Linked DNA regions of Homo sapiens: all the other regions are linked to region 1. The links are contacts of gene promoters, found by promoter capture Hi-C in blood cells and fetal thymus (Javierre and others, 2016). All regions are on one chromosome and are shown on one strand. Each heading gives the region's core, a stretch centred on a gene start or on the middle of the fragment in contact. The rest is flanking DNA. Distances are from core to core; before and after follow the strand shown. Region 1 holds the start of PLEKHH2 (pleckstrin homology, MyTH4 and FERM domain containing H2). Region 2 holds the start of HAAO (3-hydroxyanthranilate 3,4-dioxygenase). Region 3 has its middle 5.5 kb from the start of TRI-TAT2-1. Region 4 has its middle 22 kb from the start of TRI-TAT2-1. Region 5 has its middle 72 kb from the start of TRI-TAT2-1. Region 6 has its middle 95 kb from the start of TRI-TAT2-1. Region 7 overlaps LOC105374568 (a long non-coding RNA gene).

Region 1 (2,735 bases), core at 72-2,571:
ATCTTCACTTCAGGGGACAGGAAAAAGTCTTGGAGTTCCAAATACCCCCAGTGATTTTTGGAAGTATTTACTGACATAAGATAAACTGTTTACAATTGTGGAGTGAATGCTCTTTTCTCTGAATCTCTGACTTCCTGTTTCTCTTCCAAATCCCAAAAAGGAAAGAAAAAGAAATGAAAGAATTATTCTACTTAGGCTTACCCTGATGAAGCGCAGCGTTAGTCTCTATGATATTCTTTAGTTTTTGCCTCTTAAGGGACAGCTTAACTGGGCTGGGTAATCGTGTGTGTGAGTGTGTGTGTGTGTGTGTGTGTGTGTGTGTGTGTGTGTGTTAAAAGATCTTTCTCGACGAGACTGAGGCATGCCTTGTTTAAGGAACCTTCTGACCACCACCTAGCCACCTAGCCCCACTTGGGCAACGCCTGCCCTTCGGTGACCCTGCCCAGAACAGCCGAGCTCCTCACTACATACTCCTCTGGGACACACCGCTGTGCGGGCCAGGCTTCCAAGACTGGCATTTTCACAAAGAAAGCAGTGACCCTCAGGTAGCCCACCACCAGAGCTTTTCCAATGTAAGTGGTTCGACTTCTATTTCCACAGCGTTACGCACAACAATATCGACGGGTAAAAAGTGTTGTCCTTTAAAAAGTGCCCCACTAACTTCGGGGACAGTGGTTTCCGGGTAGGTCACCTTAGGGTGCTTTGACGTGCCAGCAACTCGAGGTGTACAAAATGCTTCTTTAAAGTTTTGAGTTTAAAGTTTCGCCCCGGAGATCCTGGTGGATCTCCCGAAGCCTAAGGCGAGCGCGGCATCCCTGACCGCGCGGGTCCCTCGGCTCGGGGACCCTGGGCTGCCCCGCTGCGCCCCCGGGACCGCTCGCGCCGCGCCAGAAGCCCGGGCCCAGTGTTTCCAAACAGAACGTCACGGGAGCCCACGGGCGCGAGGGACCGCCGGCCACCGCCCCCTGCCCACCTCTCCCGGCGACATCCAGACTTGGGGGCCGACTCTGGGCTGTGGCGGGAGGTGCAGCGGCGGATCCCGAGTCAGCCCGCTCCGTCCCTCTCGTCCCCGCCTTCCCGCTCCTCCCGGCGCCCCAAACCTCGGCCCCGCGAGCCCCCCTGGACGGGGCGCCCTCAAGGGGGCGGGGATCCCAGGGTGGCAGGAACTCTGGAGTGGCCCCTCGTCCCCGGGCTTTCTCACCTGTCTATCTCAGCAGCGGGTCCCCGGCCGCAGCGCCCGATGTCCCGGCCGCGACTGGCCCCCGGGATCCCCGGACTCTCAGCCCGCGCCCGCCTCAAGCCGAGCTCGGAGAGGGCGGGGAAGGGCACCGCCTCCTCCAGGGACTGGCAGCCGGTGTAGCCAATGGGAGACCACAGCCGACCACCGGGCGTCACCGGGGGTGTGGCTATAACTTTGGCTCCTCCCAGTCCCTGCCCCAGGAGGGAGCTCTGTCCTGGAGTGGTACCCCTAACGTCCCAACTGCGAGACTCCAGAGCTTGCTGCAGCGGCCGGTCACCTTCATTCCACTCCGTCTGCCTGGACTGTTGCAGCACCCTCCCTTGGTCTCCCAGTCTGAAGTCTCTCCTCTTGCCAATCCACCCTTCATCTTCCTGCCAGGTTAATTTCCTTAAGAGCAGTTTTGATGAACAGTGTGCCAAAGACTTTCATTGGCTTCCGTTTGCTTAAATTATCAAGAACAGATTCCCTAGTCTAGTGTTCAAGGTCTCCATCCCGTCTTTTCAGGTTTATTTCTCACAGCTGCCCTTCACACACCTGAGACTACTGCTGTGCACCTCGCCACCCGAAGGAAGTGGCACTAGGAGCGTTTACATGCTATTTCCTGTCTCCACTTCAAAAAGCTCAGAATAATCTTCTCACCGGGCGCAGTGGCTCACGCCTGTAATCCCAGTACTTTGGGGGACCGAGGCAGGTGGATCACTTGAGGCCAGGAGTTCGAGACGAGCCTGGGCAACATGGTGAAACCCTGTCTCTACCAAAAAAAAAAAAAAAATATATATATATATATATATATATACACACAAAAAAAAAAAATTAGCTGGGCTTGGTGGCGCTCACTTGTAGTCCCAGCTACTCAGGAGGCTAAGGCTGGAGGATTGCTTAAACACAGGAGATGGAGGCTGCAGTGAGCCGCGATCATGCCACTGCACTGGATCCTGGGCGACTGGGCGAGATCCTGTCTCAAATCATCATCATTATCATCATCATCATCATCATCATCTTCTCCATGTAACTATGTCTGTCGCTCCACCTGGCAGAAATGTCGTCTCTGGGCCGGGCGCAGTGGCTCATGCCTGTAATTCCAGCACTTTGGGAGGCCGAGGAGGGCAGATCACGAGGTCAAGAGATCGAGACCATCCTGGCCAACATGGTGAAACCTGGTCTGTACTAAAAATACAAAAATTAGCTGGGCGTGGTGGTGCACGACTGTAGTCCCAGCTACTCGGGAGGCTGAGGCAGGAGAATCGCTTGAACCTGGGAAGCGGAGGTTGCAGTGAGCCAAGATAGCACCACTGCACTCTAGCCTGCCTACAGAGCAAGACTCCATCTGAGACAAAAAAAAAAAAAAAGGTCTTCTCTGGTTTCTGCTCCCTGAACATCTAGATTTTTGCCTCTCTTGGGGCTTAGCTCCCTCTGCCTTATGCACAGCTCCTCACATCTCTTTTAGACTGTGAGCACTTTGAAAACAAGGATTTGTGGTTTTTTTTTTTTTTTT
Region 2 (2,735 bases), core at 106-2,605, 840 kb after region 1:
TTCTAGTTTTGCACTAGAAGTGCTCAGCTAAAACTGTGCTAGATAAATAACTAAAAAAAAGGAGAGAGAAAAATGAAAAAAAAAAAAAGAGCGTCAGAGAGGAAACGGGAGGGTCTCAGTGGGGAATTCGGCTTCCTGTCGTCTGGGTTTTGATTTTGAGTTGTACTAGAGGAGTCTTTATGTCTGGAATGCTGAGAAAACCAGCCCAGGCCAGGCGGGCTGTGAGGGCAGGATTTAGAGGCGTTTAGTTTCTTAAACTCTATAGTCTGGATTCCGGTGTCAGGGGCCTGAGCCATTTTCCTCCTCCCCTACCCGTCAGCTCCCACTCCCTCCAAACTTCCTAAGAAAGTTCTGAGTCCTGCAGAAAGACAGGCTTCTCCATCTTCCACACCCGCGCAGATTTCTCTTTCCTCACACATGCACGCCCAGGCCCAGCGCCCCAGCCCCTCACCCCCAGGATAACTGTTAGAGTCTCTCACACGGGGCTGTCATCATTAACACCCCGAGATTCCCGAGGGCTAGGACACTGAGGCCGGTGTCCACATCTGCCAAATTCCTCCCATAGCTGCGTGCGAACTGAGTATGTTCCTAAGACGCCTAAGGAGTTCAGCACGGGGCTCGGGGTCCACTGCGACACTGCGCGGACAGCGGCCGCTCGGCTGGGCCTCAGGTGGGGAGGGCTCGCGGTCCTGCCCTGAGCCCGGGCTCCGCAGCTCGGCGCCTGCACCGCTCCCCTCGCCGAGCCCGCGGCGGAGTCTGCCGGCCGCACGCAGCAGGTCTGGGGCTCACCTTGAATCGGGACCTGCGGGGACCGCCGTGCGGCTTCCCGCTGGGTGAGCGCCGCAGCCCTGAGTGGCGGGGCAGTCATTCCCCTTTTCCAGATGGGAAAGCCAAATCTTGAGCCCAGCGCCAGCACCGTGTTCTCAGGTGCTGGGACTTCCAACCCGCGATCTCCTCACTGTAGTATTTCTGGGAACCTTCCCTGGGATTCCCCTCGGGGCGTAGAGGGAAGGAACGTCTGGGGACAAGCGTCCAGGAAGGGTCTGGATTCTTTGTCCTCCGCCGGGAGCAGGCCCCACCGCAGGCGCCAGTGTGTGGGGCGCCCCGGAGACGGTGGCGGGGACCGAGCCCCTGCCCCGCGGAGAAGCAGAGGGCGCGGGACGCCGTTCCCCAGCGCTGCCGCCGCCGCGCTCGCCAGGGCCTGGAGTGGCGCGGAGGGCGGCGGGCTCAGACCAAAGTCCACCAGGGGGCAAAGTCCGCGGGCCCCAAGCCCCCACCACGGGGTCGCGGGGGTTTGCTCCGCCTCGTGAGCTTGGGATTCTGGTTAAAAAGGCGGCTGGGCGGAGCTGCGGGCCTCCGACGGCGGGAGGACAGCGCTGCGAGGAGGCGCCCGGGACAGTCATGGAGCGCCGCCTGGGAGTGAGGGCCTGGGTGAAGGAGAACCGGGGCTCCTTCCAGCCCCCGGTCTGCAACAAGCTCATGTGAGTCCAGCACCCCCATGGCCGCCCCCTGCCCTCGCCTCCTCCCCCTCCTCCATCTGCGCCCTCACCTTCCAGCTCCGAGTTCCTGGACCCAGAAGCTTGCAGAAGGACCGCTTTAATCTCTTGGTTCTTGGGGGAAGATGGAGACAGGCTGTTCCGGTTCCACCACATCGGTCTGTTCCTCTTTCTTGTGACTGTGGCCTTGACTTCTGAAGAAGGCTGAGCTGGTTCTCAGGCTGTAGGAGATGACATGACAGGGTGCACCTCTCCTTCCAGGGCTGAGAAACAATTCTCCAACCCCAAGTGACACTGTGCATTTTGGGAAAACTCAAAAGTGTGGGGAGGGTGGTTTTCAAGGCAGAAATGCACTAGAATGTAGGCCTGGGGGCAGCCAAATCATACACCCCAACCCTGTCCCAGAAGCCACAGGCAAAGGGGGAGGCAGAGAATCCGCTCCTTTGGGAAGATCTTGATGTCTTGCTTTTTTCAGGGCCCCTCTATGCAGGTGTGCACGAACACACACACACACACACCACACCAGACCCTCCCTAGGCCACCTCTGCCAGTAGCCTCTGCCTGCAGCACCCAACAGGGTTGGCCATCCAGCTGCCATCTTTCTCAGGCAGACCTCTCAGGCCCTCCCCTGTGGTATGGTCACCTCCCTCATCCCCCCAGTTCCATGGCGGGGCCCCACATGCCAGCTAGATCAAGGTTTACATTCCCCATTTTTGCTGTGTCCACAGGACATGGTCAGTAGGGTGGCACCTCAAGGCAAACAGCAGGCCCAGGACTATGCCAAGTGTTTTTACATCATCTCATCTCATTCTCACAGTAGCACCGTGAGGGGGGATTTTCATAAGTAACTTTTCTAGTGTCACGGAGCGCCTGTGCGATAGGCTCCAGACTCAACCCACGGAGCAGTTCGACTCCAGAGTCCACGCACACTCTTGGTTACCATGCAATACCACATGGCCAACAGTCAATATCTCCCCAAAGATCTCTTCTATCACTGTTGTTGCCCACCCCCAATTAAAGATGTAGCATCATCTTTGCCTCCTTCCAACACTTCATCCCCATCTGCAGTCGCTCCTTCTCAGTCCTCCCTTCGCTCCCCCTGAGGTCTCGCGTCCATCTGCCCGGGCCTCTCCCTAGCATTTGGTGGTTTGCTGGCATCATTGGTATTCTTGCTTCTGCTGTACCACGCCCACCTCCACCTTCGTCTTCACAAGGCAGTCTCCTTGTGTGTGTGTCTGT
Region 3 (2,735 bases), core at 147-2,646, 820 kb after region 1:
ACTTATAATACCTGGTTTCCAAACTTACTCTAAATCTACAGTAATCACCACAGTGTAGTGTTGGCATAACACCATACTGACAGGTCAATAGAATAGAACGATAGTACAGCAATAGAGCAACACATTTATGGACAGCTTGTTTTTGATAAGATGCCAAGGCAATTTGATCAGGAAAGAATAAGCTTTTCAACAAATGGTGCCATAATTTAGATACTCACATACCCCAACCCCCCTCAAAATGAGACCTTTACCTCACACCATACACAAAAATTAAGTCAACTCAAAATGGAGCATAAACCTAAATATAAGAACTAAATCATGGACTAAAATCTTGGTGACCTTGAGTTAAACAAAGGTTATTTAGATATAGCACCAAAAGTACAATCAATAATGGGTAAAGAAATCAATGAATTGAACTTCATCAAAATGTTAAGATTTTGCTCGTTAACAGATATTAGAAAATGAAAACCCAAGCCACAAACTGGAAGTAATTACAAATTATATATCCACAGGCCAAACACAGTGGTGCATGCCTGAAATCCCAGCACTTTGGGTGGCCGAGGTGGATGGATCACCTGAGGTCAGGAGTTCAAGACCAGTCTGGCCAACATGGTGAACCTTGTCTCTACTAAAAATACAAAAATTAGCTGGCCATGATGGTGTGCACCTGTAGTCCCAGCTACTTGGGGGGCTGAGGCAGGAGAATCGGTTTAACCTGGGAGGCGGAGATTGCAGTGAGCTGAGATTGCACCACTGCACTCCAGCCTGGGTGACAGAGCAAGACTCTGTCTCAAAAAATATACGTATTATATATCCAACAAGGGAACTACATCTAGATTATACAGAAAATCTCTACAACCCAATAATGAAAAGAGAAACAACTCAATAAAAAGCAGACAGAAGACCGGAGTGGTGGCTTGCACCTGTGGTCCCAGCTACTGGGGAGGCTGAGGCAGGAGGATTGCTTGAATCCAGGAGTTTGAGGCTGTGATATCATGCCACTGCACTCTAGGCTGGGGGGCAAAACAAGACCCCATCTCAAAAACAAAAAACAAAAAAATACTTCACCAAAGAGGATATATTAATGTCTAATAAGCATATGAAAAGCTACTCAACATTATTAATGCAATTCATTGTACATAAACTATAACTCAGAAAAGCTTTAAAATTTAAAACTTATTGGTTATCTTTAGAAATTATTAGGGAATCAAAGATTGGTGGAAAAAGAGAAAGAATCAAGAAATTATCCAGTCTTTCTTATGTGAATTGTGCTTCCATAGTCATAAATACAGAAGGAATAATAGAATTAGAAAAGCACCATTGGGGAATCCTCAATAAAAATAATAGATTTAGACCAAGATAATCAACGGCTGCTAAAACATTAGGTTAGAGGCTGGTGAAGGACTTTATAATGGATGGATTCAGCCAACCACGCTGATGAAGGATTAGAGGCTGATGAAGGATTTTATAATGGATGGATTCTGCTGACCATGCTGAAATCATCAATCAAAAGCCATATTTCTAAATGTGGGACAGCCAGACATTATGTACTTTCTTTTGTGGTGCAATAGCACACAGTACCATCTAGAATATATTTTGGGGGAAAAATAATCTGAATATTATAAAGCTTCTAGATATAATTGCCATGAGGGATTGAAGAACATGGGGCTGAAGAAAACCTTGAGCATGCAATTAGCCAAAATCTGTGGGAAATTCTAAAGGTCAACAAAGAAATGTCATAAAAGGGGGTGAAAAGAGAGGAAATTCGAATAGATTAAAAGAGATTTATCCTTTAAATATCTTAAAGGATACACCAATCAAATGCCAAGGACAGCCCATATTTGGATCTTGATTCAAACAAACCAATCTTCTGTAAAAATATTTTTCAGAGATATGGGTAGCAATTTGAAAGCAGATGAGGTATGAGATGAAGCTAAGTAATTATTATTACTCTTGTTGGGTGTAATAATGATACCATGGTTATGCTTTTTTAAAAAAGTGATTACCTGTTGGGTATATATGCTGAAGTTTTGACAGGTTAAATTAAACCATATCTAGGATTTCCTCTAAAATATTCCAGAGGTAAGGGGTGAATGTTGTGGGAAGGATATAGATAAAACAATGTTGACAATTCTTTAAAAGTGGAAACATGGGGGTTAACTATACTGTTCTCTCTACTTTTGTGTATGTTTGAAATTTTCCATAATAAAGAATTGGGCTTTGGTTTCGTTTTGTTGAATTTTAAATGAGCTTGTTTCTACAGATCACAGCCCTCTGGCTGTGTTCTGACCTACTGAGAGTTCAACAGGATTCCCTCCCTTTACCCATATGGAGGCCACACACTCAATATCTGTAGGGTACAAATGACTGAAATGAGCCTGGGATAAAGAAAACAGCAAAGCAAGCCAGTGAATCAAGGCAGCTGGCACCTACCTCTGTGTTGGAGAATAATGGAGAGTGACAGGGACCGTGGCAAACCGAAAGCCACATACACATCCAAGATGGGCAGTCAGTCTTGCCATATAGGAATAAGGGCCCCAGATGGCCCGGCTTTTTTTTTTTTAGACAAGGTCTCACTCTGTCTCCCAGGCTGGAATACAGTGGTGTGATCTTGGCTCACTGCAACCTCCGCCTCTCAGGTTCAAGAGATTCTCCTGCCTCAGCCCCCCGAGTAGCTGGGACTACAGGCATGGCGAATTTTTGTATTTTTAGTAGAGGTGGGATTTCGCCATGTT
Region 4 (2,735 bases), core at 70-2,569, 800 kb after region 1:
TCCGCCTCCACGTTCAAGCGATTCTCCTGCCTCAGCCTCCTAAATAGCTGGTATTACAGGCATGCACAATCACACCTGGCTAATTTTTGTATTTTTAGTAGAGTGGGGGTTTCACCATGTTGGTCAGGCTAGTCTCGAACTCCTGACTTTGTGATCCGCCCACCTCAGCCTCCCAAAGTGCTGGGATTACAGGCGTGAGCCACCATGCCCCACCAAAAAAAATTTTTTAAGCCTGTTGAGGTGGTGCGCATCTGTGGTTCCAGCTACTCGAGAGGTTGAGGCAGGAAGATGGCTTGAGCCCAGAAGATCCAGGCTGCAGTGACCAGTGATTATGCCACTGTAGTCCAGCCTGGGCGACAGAGCAAGACCTTTTCTCAAAATAATAATAATAAAAATAATAATAATAATTAAAATTTTAAAAATCCACCCACAGGCAATATCCAGCACTCACAGAAGACAAGCAGGTGGGGAAACGACCAGGGATCCTGAAACCCTCAGACAAGGCCAAAACTTGATTTAGCCACTAGAGGTAAAGACAGAACTGGCCTCCTCCCCAAGTCCCTCAAAAAAGTGGGGGCTATAAACCTAACACCTGGACAGGTGCAGAATCAGAGCTGTTTGGAAGCCCACTCACCAAGAAAATACACTATCACATTTGACCAGTTAATCTGAATGCTAGGAGTTTCTGCAAGGCTCAGACAGAGCCTCTGGCTCCGCACGTGTGTGCAAGGATCCCACGTCAGTTTTGTGACCATGGAAGTGCATCTACTTGTAGGTGGGAGATTTCTTTTTGCCTGGGTGAAGGTCTATGACTGAGACTGTGTGGAAGACAGTGGGTGTCTGTGAGCAGAATTGCCACTGGTTACATGTGCAGGCTCTGAGGCCGGACTACCTGGCCTTGAATCCCAAGTCTACCAATTACTGGCTTTGTGAGCTTGAGTTGACCTCTATGTGACTCAATTGACCTCTATGTGGGAGTAAATAACTATACCTGTCTCATGCAGTTGTTGCAAGGATGAAATTACATAATCCTTTCTATAGTGTTAGAACAATGCCTATGATATAGTAAATTACCAATAGGTGTTAGTTATAATTATGATGTGTGACTGTGTATATCCGCATCTGCAAATGTAAATTCAAGTGTATCTAGTAAAGGTATAGGGGTGTCTTTATGTCTTTGTTTATGAAGATATACTCATCTAAGTGTCTGTGTCTATGTTTCTGTGTGTCCAATGATAAGAACAACTGGCATCTATTGAGTGCCTTCTGTGTCAGGCATTAAGTTCTACAGGTATTCACATGGAAACATACACATACGTGGATGTAAATGGCAAGTACACATCCAGCCTGATTTACGATATCATAGGCATTGTTCTAACACTATAAATAGGATTAAGTTTGGGAGGCCGAGGTGGACATGTTTCTGGGGGGTCCTTGCTCCCAGAGCTCCCAAGATGGTGGCAGGTGGCTTCCAAAATGGCAGCCGGCTGCTTCCAAGATGGTGGCAAGCCTAATGTTCTCTGACCTGGGGTTCTTGGCCTCACGGATCCCAAGGAATGGAATCTTGGGCCATGAGGTGAGTGTTAAAGCTCTATTAGAAGCCATGGGTTATGGAAGAGAACCGTGGAAACCAGTGACTAGTGTTCAGCTCGATCAGGATGAACCCGGGCACTTAGCCATGAAGGAACAATGGCAAGCCTTTAGCCCCATCGGGAGTGGCAATGGGTGCCTCGCTGGATCAGGAGCACAGCGGACACCCTGTGTCTGGAGGGATGGAAGTCAGCGGCGGGTCTGCCATGGCGGCAAACAGCAGTGGTGGACGGCGAGCGAAAGCTCAGCTCCAGCCGTAACAAACACAGACCAGAAGAGAGTGCTGTTGCAAGATTTAATAGAGTGAAAACAGAGCTCCCATACAAAGGGAGGGGACCCAAAGAGGGTAGATGTTGACGGCTCGCATGCCTGGGTTTACATCCCGATCACTGTCCCTCCTGCTGTGCTCTCAGGAGACAGATGATTGGCTATTTCTTTACCTCTTGTTTTTGCCTAATTAGCTTTTTAGTGAGTTATCTTTACTACCTGATTGGTCAGTGTGAGCTAAGTTGCAAGCCCCGCGTTTAAAAGTGGACGCGGTCACCTTCCCAGCTAGGCTTAGGGAGTCTTAGTCGGCCTAGGAAATCCAGCTAGTCCTGTCTCTCAGACGGATCACTTGAGGTCAGGAGTTCGAGACCAGCCTGGCCAACACGGCGAAACCCTGTCTCTACTAAAAATACAAAAATTAGCCGGGCATGGTGGCAGGCATCTATAATCCTCGCTACTTGGGAAGCTAAGGCAGGAGAATTGCTTGAACCAGGGAGGCGGAGGTTGCAGTGAGCTGAGATCGTGCCACTGCACTCCAGCCTGGGTGACAGAGCCTGACTTCGTCTCAAAAAGAAAGGATTAAGTAATTTCATCCTTGCAACAACTACATGAGGTAGCTATGGTTATTTACCCCACCCCACCCCCACATCCAGCCACATGTGCCAGTGAGTACCTGTAAGTGTGGCCATCTGCCTCAGCCCTGCCCAGTAAGACCCCCTTCCTGAGGGAGTCACGTGAGGGAAAGCAGTGAATGAAACCCACCACCAGCCCCTTCCCCAGGTTCCCTATTGGCTTGAATTGCCCATGTCACATTTCCTCCAGTAGGAAAGGACAAATGAGGAGCCTGGACAAGAGCCCACCAATCACAGCCTTCCTTT
Region 5 (2,735 bases), core at 152-2,651, 750 kb after region 1:
TAATAGCATACATTTTGGATGTTGTAGGGGAGTCCTTCCTTGAAGAGACTCGGCCTCCCCTCCATTCAAGGGATTCTGGGTTTATAAATTGGTCAAGTCTGAAAACTGATCGAGGAGCTGTGACTCTGTTTTGGTGATTTGGGTTACACTTTTGTTCTCTTGACTTAAAACTTTTCTGCTTAGAAAAATCAACAAAGAACTTAGTAAGCTTCTTCTCTATTTCACTCCTAGGAACACCATGATTAACTAGCCAATGCCATACTAGTCTGCATGAGCCGGATTATTCTGATTGGTGCTTTGCCTCTGCTGTGCATTAAGGTAACTACACCCACCTTGCATTTGATGGCTGGGTGCCGCCACTTGGCCCTGTCACCTTGGAATCCAATTACCCCCTGTTGCATGTAGATTTCCAGTTGAGTGGCTATGGTTTCCAATGTGAAGTCTGGCCTATAGAAAAGAGTGACCACAGAGCTCTCCAGGGATGCTGGGGCTCCCCTCACAAATTTATTCCTCAAAATACTGGTAAAGGGTATGTCTTCTGGACCTTCTCAGTGTGGGTGAAGGGGTCTTAAATGACAGATTCACTTGGACATTCCAATCTCCTAAGTCTTTGAACCCCCTCCTCTGCGTTAAACCAAGGGAGCTCGGGCATTTCCAATTCACTCTTGGTGGCCTACCTTTTGATCCATATTTCAGCCAAACAAACTGTTAGAATCCTTTGTAACTCCCCCACCTGCAAAATTGAATGCAGAATTTCTGCTTAGTGGGTCTATAGCAATAAATTCAGCCTGATTCACCTTTATGTTCCTTCCACCATTACCCCACACTCTCAATATCCACTCCCATGCATGTTCCCCAGATTTCTGCTTGTATAAAGGAATTATTTTGGGGGCAGTACACCTCCTCATGGGTCACACTATGTACCTTACCTTTAGGGGGCTTCTGGGACTCGAGTCTAGATATAGGTCTACAAGCAAAGAATGCTGATGAGGTGGGTCCAGGGGTGAATCTGCCCTGTCTTATATAGCAACTGCTTCAGGGGTGGCCATTACTGTTTCATCAGGCAATGAAGATTTATCCCCACTACTGTGGGTGAGGAAGCCACTTTTGCTAAGGGTGGGTAGGCAACTTCACTGGGGGTAGGGATGCCACTTCCACTGGGCGTAGGCCAGTCTCTTCCATGGTAAAGAAGACTTATGAGAACTTAGAGGCTCAAGGTCTCCAGCTTCATCAAGGTCTTCCCATAGGTCACCCACCCAACTCACAGGATATCATTCTTTCCCAGTCAATGCCCTCACTGTAACAGTAGAGACCATGTGAGGCTGGGAAGTTGTCATTCAGTCAGTCACAGGATTTGTTTTGCATGTGATTTTCAGCAATTTCAGTCCTGAAATAAGGTTGCCCTTCAGGGCACAACTAGAAGATCTTTTATGCACTGTTTGAGCTAGGAATTTGAATCCATGATCTCATCCTTTTCTTTTACAAATCTGTCCAATGACATTAGAAACAAGTAACCAAGTAACCAATGTCATTATATTCCTCAATTTTCCAAAAATGTTTGAAATATCTTAAATGAAGTCACGTAGCTCCTTGCTTCTTATAAGTGGTTGATTAGAAGTATCCAATGCAGATATTTTGCATATCTCTATAAACAGCCAACACCATGAACAATCAGATTAGAGGGCCAGTCTCATAAACCTCAGAACCAATTCAGGAAACTCAACCTTAAAATTCTGTTCTCCTAGAACCACTATTGATACTAAAATCTGCATTAGTCAGAGTTCTCCTGAAAAAGAGAACCAATGGGATACACACACACACACACACACACACACACACACACACACACACACACATTGATTATAGGAGTTGGCTTATGTGATTACAGAGGCTCAGAGCTCCCTCAATCTGCCATCTGCAAGCTAGAGAACCAGGAAAGCTGGTGGTGTAATTCAGTCCAAGTCCAAAGCCCAACAACCAGGAGCACTACTGTCTAAGGGCAGGAGAAGATGGGTGTCTCAGCTCAAACAGAGACAGAGAACAAGTTTGTCTTCCTCTGCCTTTTTGTTTTATTTGGGCCCTCAACAGATTGGATAATCCCCACCCACATTGGTGAGGGCAGTCTTCTTAATCTACTAATTCAAATATAAATCTCTTCTGGAAACACTCTCACAGACACATCCCAAAATAATGGTTTATCAACTATCTGGGCATCGCTTAACCTAGTCCAGTTGACACACAGAATTAATCACCACAGTTGTCAATTAGGAGTAAACCTCTAACATGAGCTGTAAGACTACAGGGACTTTTCCACAGACCAGCTTCTGGCTGTGTGCATTTCAATCTTGTTTCATTTCCACTTCCTACATGCTTCCTGTACTAAGAGCCATAGGACACATTCATGCTGCATCACCCCAGGTGAGTCAACACCATGGGTGGTAGGAGTATTCCTGGAAACCAATCCTCCCCAATAATTGTCATGATACATGGAAGTGACTGAGAGTCACACTCATGAAATATTATATACATATATTGCATCCCACATAAATACATCCCATTTGTCCACATTAAATGCATCCCTCAATTCAAGCTTCCCTAAGCTGGATCCCCAAAATGCCACAGTTATTCCGATATCCCTTGACAGAAGGGAAATGTGACAGAGGGGAAGTCAGGGTGAAAAGAAACAGCAGCCTTGAATGATTGTGGTTGATACAATATACTTTTGCAAATTTTAC
Region 6 (2,735 bases), core at 152-2,651, 730 kb after region 1:
GATCCCTAGTCCAGTTGCAGAGGTCTTCCTGGAGGAAGTGACATTCAAACTGAGATCTGAAGAATGAGTAGGAGCTGGTCAGGAAATGAACAGAAGCAATGGGGCTTCAGGACGAGAGCACAGGCATTGCAAAGGCCCAGGGAGAAGGAGAGCAGGAGAGAGAGAAGCCAGAAGTTCAGCAGGGCTGGCAGTTATTGAGCTGGACATACTCTGTGCCAAGCTCAGTGCTCTCGTAGGTACTGAATCCTGAGAGGCAGAAACCCCTGGCAGGCTAAGGATCAAAGATCTCAAGGTCGGGGAGCCAGGATCCCAGCATGAATCTGTGGACCCTGCACCCACCTTCTTTCCCCTCTGCCTAGAGCTGGACTTTCCAGGGCACCCCAGTTCCCTGCCCCTTCCCTTGTCCTGGTGACCCAGAAGCCCAGCACGGCCGAGTTTCTAGCAGTCATTTCTGGTGCTATCTCGGAGGAGACCCTGCTGCCCACCAGGAGGCATCGCCGGTTAAACATCTCCAGACCCCCTTGTGGTCTGGTTTCTGTTTCATCGGTGAGGCAACAGGAAAACTGAGAGCCTATTAAGTTGACTTGCAGATGCCAAAATGGAATCACAGCCAAAATTACATTAACCCTTTCACACCCCGTCCTCCACCCGCCGTCCGGGGCCACAGAAATCAGAGCGTTGAACCACATGACCGCTTGGGAGAAGCGACCACCTTGGCCCCAGGGGATGGCCTCCTAGATCCAGAGCGGCACCTGGCCTACCCAGGCAGGGCTGATGGGTCAGGCGTCCATCCTGCGCAGGTGCAAGCCATGGTGCTGGTGACGGAGGAGCACCCACCCAGCAGCCCTGCTGAACGCAAGGACTCGTAGCTGGGAAAAAGGACTGTGCAAACCGGAGCCAGCTCTTCCAAACAGGGAAGAGGTCATGTGAAAGCCGTGGGGCTGAGCTGCACAGTGGGGGGTTCTCAGGGCACTGATCTTTCACTCTCATTCCAGGAAGTCAAGCCATAGCCAAGTGGGAGCGCACTGGAAATGGGGTGGCCCCGAGAAGGCAAAAGCACAGCCATCGTCTCTTAACTTAGTGTCCCCTGAAGGCTCCGCACAGAAAAGGGTAATATGGGTCAAGAAAAGAGCACTGGACTGGGAGTCCATCCAGAATGGAGCAGGGCATTTGTCCTGTCCTCGTGGTGGGGCAGAATGAGCACAGGCTTTGTAGTTAGATTCCATTGAGTATCAACCTTATTTCCCCATCTGGGAGCTGTGTGACCCTGGGTCAATTACTCCTCCCTGAGCCTCAGTTGCCTCAGCAATAAATGGATATAATATAGACTACCTCATAGGGTCTTATCAGGATGAAATAAGGTGCCACAGTGCCCAAAGCAAGCTGGGCATGTAAAGGGAACTCCCTTGCCTCCAGGCCGCAGCTTCAACTGTAAAATGGGCTGACAACCATCCTGGGTTAAGTGTGTCCAGCACTTGAGACACTACAGAGGGCTGCAGATACATTCAAGGGGTCTCTGGCTGGGGAAGACGCTGAGATGTTATTCCCTTTCCAGCCTCCTTTGCCCTTGGCCTTCTTCTCACCTACCATCAGACAGAGGCCTCCCTCACGCTGCACAGCCTCCTCCTGGGTGATTGTGAGGGCTCCGTGGCCACAGAGATGAAAGAACATTTCTTGTGCACCTACTCAAGGCAATTATCAGAAACTGGAATTATTATACCCCCTGCCCAACCAGCTTATAGTTGAAGGAAATGCGGTTCAGGCACAGAAGGTGACTCACCTGGAGTCACATGGTTTCTAAGCCCTTGCTTGGGTTTGGAATCCTAGGCCTGACTGACTCCAAGGCCCATGTTCCTGCCCCTGCCCCACTCCAAGCCCCCAGTTCACCAGCAGCATAATAGCCCGGGGAACCTGAGACCTGAACTGCCCAAATGCTGGGACTATCCTGGGGTGGCCTCCCCTCCTGTGGGTGCTGAGACAGTGGTCACCACTCCACCATCGGGAGAGACGGACACTCCAAACTACCACCAACTCCCTCGCTGGCCAAGGACCACCAGGAATGAGTGGATGGGATGGGAAACAGGCAGGAAGAGGTGATGCTCAGGCCTAAGTGTGAGTCTGGGCTCAGCCGTGTTGACTTGCCCAAGTTTCCTCACCCCCCTGGCTCTCCGTGACCTCATCTGTAGATCCTGGACAGGAAGAACACTGTCCTATCTCGCAGGCTGTCGGGAGATTTAAATGAGATGACTGATGGGTGTTGAAATGATCAAGGCTTGTTGTCACTGGTAATTAGCACACTCGTTATTTGTTTGTGTTTCTAAGCAGCAGATTCGCTAAGTGGGTTAAACCGCTTCTCAGTCCCAGCTGCTCAAGTGTCCTGTTGACACTGGTCCTGCTTTGTTCACAGACAGCAAAGGTGAATCCATGCCCTGCACAGTTGGAACAGCCCATACCCCAGGGGAGCCCCCATGGGGCGCAGACTGTTCAGCTTTTGTGCTGGTTTTCTTGGCCCTCAGGCCAACCAAGCGACGGGAGGCAAGCGTAGCAGGCATTCTTCCTCCCCTGGGTTCTCAGAAATGGATAAACCAACACATGAGACCCACAGCCACCCTGGCGTATTTGCAGGGAGTGCTTACTATGTGCCAGACAGTTTGCTCCTCTACAGATAAAACCCTGGGAGCTTCTCCCTGCAGCCCTGCGACAGGGGTGGCTTTCTAACTCCCACCCCTCCACTC
Region 7 (2,735 bases), core at 140-2,639, 720 kb after region 1:
CTCAGAGTCTGTCTAGACTTTTTAGGAGAGAGTCAAAGAAGCAATGCTGGCGATGCGTGCTCAGACCCAGCACAGGATGAGATGATCTGGGAACTGGAATGTCAGGAATGACTTCACTAAGAGATCAGAGGTGGTCTGAGAGCGGGTGACCAGAACAAGCCTGCCAGGCACAGAGAACAGCATGTGCAAAGGAGTAAGGGAGAGCCTAGTAGGTCTGGGACATGCCAGCAGTTCACTAGGCCTGGATAGAAAGTTTGAGCATGGGGAGAGGCCAGAGAAGGGGCTGGAGAAGGGATGGGCCCAGGTCACAGGGAGCAAAGTCCACTGGCCCAAGAAGCCAGGGCTTCATAGGGTCAGCAGTAGGGAGCCTGCCAGGGCTTTAAAGAGAGGAAAGACATGAGCAGCTTAGCATTTTAGAAAGTTCATTCGACTGAAAATGTGCAGAAAGCACAAACTAAAGCACAGACACAAAACAAGTTCAGAGGATGTGGCTGTCACCCAGGTGAGCAGTGATAGCTTGGACTTGGGGCCGGGGGGATGGAGATGAGGGGACAGTTGTAAGAAATATTTAGGAGGGAGTGAGAGAGGCTTGTGATGAACCAGCATGGGGGGGACAAGGGCCGGGCTGTTGTTAAGGATGAATACCAGGATTGTGGACAGCTTGGCTGAGTGAAGGGTGGCAGCAGGAATCCAGGGAGAGGCTGGTGTATTGGCCTTGGCCATGTACCTGGCTGGCTGTTAGGGATGTGGGTCTGGAGAGGGAGGTGCTGGCCTGGTGCTCTGGAGTAGTTTGAACCCAGATTTCAATGCTGCCTGGGGAGAGGAAGAGGCTGGGAGATGGAGTGGAGTGAGCAGAGTGGACAGTGCCCTTCCCTTTCTACTAAGCCAAACCTTAGCATGCTTCAAGATCCACTCACCCCTTCCCAACCCACACCTATGTGGGAGAGCATTCAACAAAGACTGTCGGGAAGAGGGGAACTTGCGTCAAGGAGGGCAGTAGATTAGGATGGTGGATGGCCTTGGATGTGGGGAGCAAGGGTGCAGAGGCAGGATTGCAGGCGGGAGACACATTTAAGAACTTAAGGGTCCTCCCTAGTTTGGGCCCAGTGTCAGCTCCATGGCCCACTGGGAGTCCTGGGAGCAATGACTGGATGCTTGGAATGACTCTTCCTTCTGGGGATGAACTCCAGTCTACTCCAGCACAGTGACCAGATGCTACAGGGGCATTCCCAACCCCCACAGAAGCTGTTATCCCAGGCACTGCCCAGTCCAACCCAGGGAGCCAGCATCTCCAGTCTCTTGTTTCTTTCCACAGCGGGGCCTCCAGGGGCTGAGTGCTGAGGCAGCAGGAGTAGGACAAGTCCAGAACAAGGAACCCCAAGCTGGGCGTCTTTTCCCACTCCCTTTCCTTTCCTTGGTGTTGAAGGTCGAATTTCACCTCCCTTCTCATTTCTCTCTTTGCATTTTGTAGGACACACACCACCTCATCCAGCCACAGTGGCCACAGTCCTCAGGTATCTGTCATCAGCTCTCAGCCCTTCTTTCTGAGGCACGCAAGAGTGGGCAGAAGCCCTTGGGACCCCCCTTTGCCTCCAAACCCCAGTGCATTCCCAGCTTTTTCTTGGTCTCCACACTCCAGTCCAAGCCTCTGTCCTGTCCCCAGAATTCCCTGAAGAAGGTCCAGGGAGAGGGCTGTGAGTTCTCTATAAGACCAGCAGATGCAGCTGGTTGATTGCCCTTGACTCTGCTGGTGGCGGGGACATTGCTGGTGACCAGCTGCTGGTGTTCCACTCTATCCCACGGGCTTGGCCCAGCCAGCCTCAGATACCAGCAGATGGCCCCATCCCCTCTGGGATGCCCTGCCCCATTCATCTGGCCCCCATTTCTGTTTCTGATATTCTGTCCCCCTTATCTCCCTTCTCAGACTGGACAGCCCCTGTGTACCTGGGATGCGGAGAGTGACCCAAGCCTCAATCCTGGCCAGTGAGACTGCCCATCGAGGTGGAAATCATCGTCTTAATTACCAAGGCTCCCTGGCCACCGGAGGAGACACGCAACACACAGCCTGCCTAATGCGCCAGCAGCCGAGTTGGGGAGGTCCCTGGGAAAAAGGCCTATGCTCCCCCAGCCATTCTCAGGGCCTAGAATGTTCTTTAGCACGAGAGAAGTGAAGGCTCAGGGGTCCAGTGGGGAGGGCCGGGTACCAGCCCAGAAGTAGGTCTAGCCAGGGAGGTGGAGTCCCCAAGAAACACCCTCAGGAGCCTGCTGAGTCACAATCATCCCTCACAGCACGAATGTCTCGCCTGCTCCCTGCACGCAGCTCACCTGGGACTCTCCTTCTGCCGGCAGGGTGAGGGGCCTTTGAAAGGCCTAAACCAGAAAGGCTGGAGGGGCTGAAGGCAGGAGCCAGCTGGCCCCAATCCTGTTCTCTCTGGAGCCCCTCAGTCCTTAGCCCAGCCCCCAGGTGTGTCTTGTCTCCTTCTTAGAGGCTCCAACGGCCAGAGCTCCCCACTCCCAACCTACCATCTTGTCCCAGAGATGGAAGACAACATGGGAGCGGCCCCTCACAGCCAGAGTACCTTCAAGACCATGTGGCACCACCAGACTGAAACCCAGGTCCGGTGGGCTCTGCCATCCCCATGCCAAGCAGAGGGAAGGAGGGGGTGGGAGGACAGAAGAAGGAGTGGGCGGGGTGAGTCTGTGGTGGTTTGGATTGAGATGAGCTGGACTTACGT

What was found. Contacts are between HindIII fragments. The CHiCAGO score rates a contact against its expected background, and 5 or more counts as called.
Region 2: the fragment with the promoter of HAAO here is called in contact with the fragment with the promoter of PLEKHH2 in region 1 in 4 of 17 cell types (total CD4 T cells, naive B cells, fetal thymus and 1 more); the score reaches 6.7 in total CD4 T cells.
Region 3: a fragment that was not itself captured here is called in contact with the fragment with the promoter of PLEKHH2 in region 1 in 6 of 17 cell types (activated CD4 T cells, naive CD4 T cells, total CD8 T cells and 3 more); the score reaches 7.2 in activated CD4 T cells.
Region 4: a contact is called between a fragment that was not itself captured here and the fragment with the promoter of PLEKHH2 in region 1, in 8 of 17 cell types (activated CD4 T cells, total CD8 T cells, monocytes and 5 more). The highest score is 10.7, in activated CD4 T cells.
Region 5: a contact is called between a fragment that was not itself captured here and the fragment with the promoter of PLEKHH2 in region 1, in 7 of 17 cell types (neutrophils, naive B cells, total CD8 T cells and 4 more). The highest score is 8.5, in neutrophils.
Region 6: a fragment that was not itself captured here is called in contact with the fragment with the promoter of PLEKHH2 in region 1 in 5 of 17 cell types (neutrophils, naive CD8 T cells, naive B cells and 2 more); the score reaches 6.6 in neutrophils.
Region 7: a fragment that was not itself captured here is called in contact with the fragment with the promoter of PLEKHH2 in region 1 in 1 of 17 cell types (non-activated CD4 T cells); the score reaches 5.0 in non-activated CD4 T cells.

Annotation. Positions count from the first base shown.
Region 1 is chr2:43,635,846-43,638,580 of GRCh38, reverse strand. It overlaps PLEKHH2 (pleckstrin homology, MyTH4 and FERM domain containing H2), which reads right to left and starts at 1,321. Exons shown (of 30, transcript NM_172069.4): 1 at 1,202-1,321. RefSeq lists a silencer at 1,088-1,417. The HindIII fragment of the contact is 11,276 bases long and covers 1-2,735 here.
Region 2 is chr2:42,791,203-42,793,937 of GRCh38, reverse strand. HAAO (3-hydroxyanthranilate 3,4-dioxygenase) reads left to right here and starts at 1,355. Exons shown (of 10, transcript NM_012205.3): 1 at 1,355-1,481. The coding sequence starts at 1,402. RefSeq lists silencers at 619-708, 789-888, 1,069-1,508. The HindIII fragment of the contact is 4,290 bases long and covers 1-1,581 here.
Region 3 is chr2:42,814,674-42,817,408 of GRCh38, reverse strand. No RefSeq gene overlaps it. Among named protein-coding and RNA genes, the nearest start is that of TRI-TAT2-1, 5.5 kb to the right of the region's middle. The HindIII fragment of the contact is 467 bases long and covers 1,163-1,629 here.
Region 4 is chr2:42,831,182-42,833,916 of GRCh38, reverse strand. No RefSeq gene overlaps it. Among named protein-coding and RNA genes, the nearest start is that of TRI-TAT2-1, 22 kb to the right of the region's middle. The HindIII fragment of the contact is 3,429 bases long and covers 1-2,735 here.
Region 5 is chr2:42,881,572-42,884,306 of GRCh38, reverse strand. No RefSeq gene overlaps it. Among named protein-coding and RNA genes, the nearest start is that of TRI-TAT2-1, 72 kb to the right of the region's middle. The HindIII fragment of the contact is 2,382 bases long and covers 211-2,592 here.
Region 6 is chr2:42,903,717-42,906,451 of GRCh38, reverse strand. No RefSeq gene overlaps it. Among named protein-coding and RNA genes, the nearest start is that of TRI-TAT2-1, 95 kb to the right of the region's middle. RefSeq lists an enhancer at 1-99. The HindIII fragment of the contact is 9,825 bases long and covers 1-2,735 here.
Region 7 is chr2:42,920,413-42,923,147 of GRCh38, reverse strand. LOC105374568 (a long non-coding RNA gene) reads left to right here. Exons shown (of 3, transcript XR_940014.3): 1 at 1-502; 2 at 1,472-1,514; 3 at 1,925-2,735. Among named protein-coding and RNA genes, the nearest start is that of TRI-TAT2-1, 110 kb to the right of the region's middle. The HindIII fragment of the contact is 5,075 bases long and covers 1-2,735 here.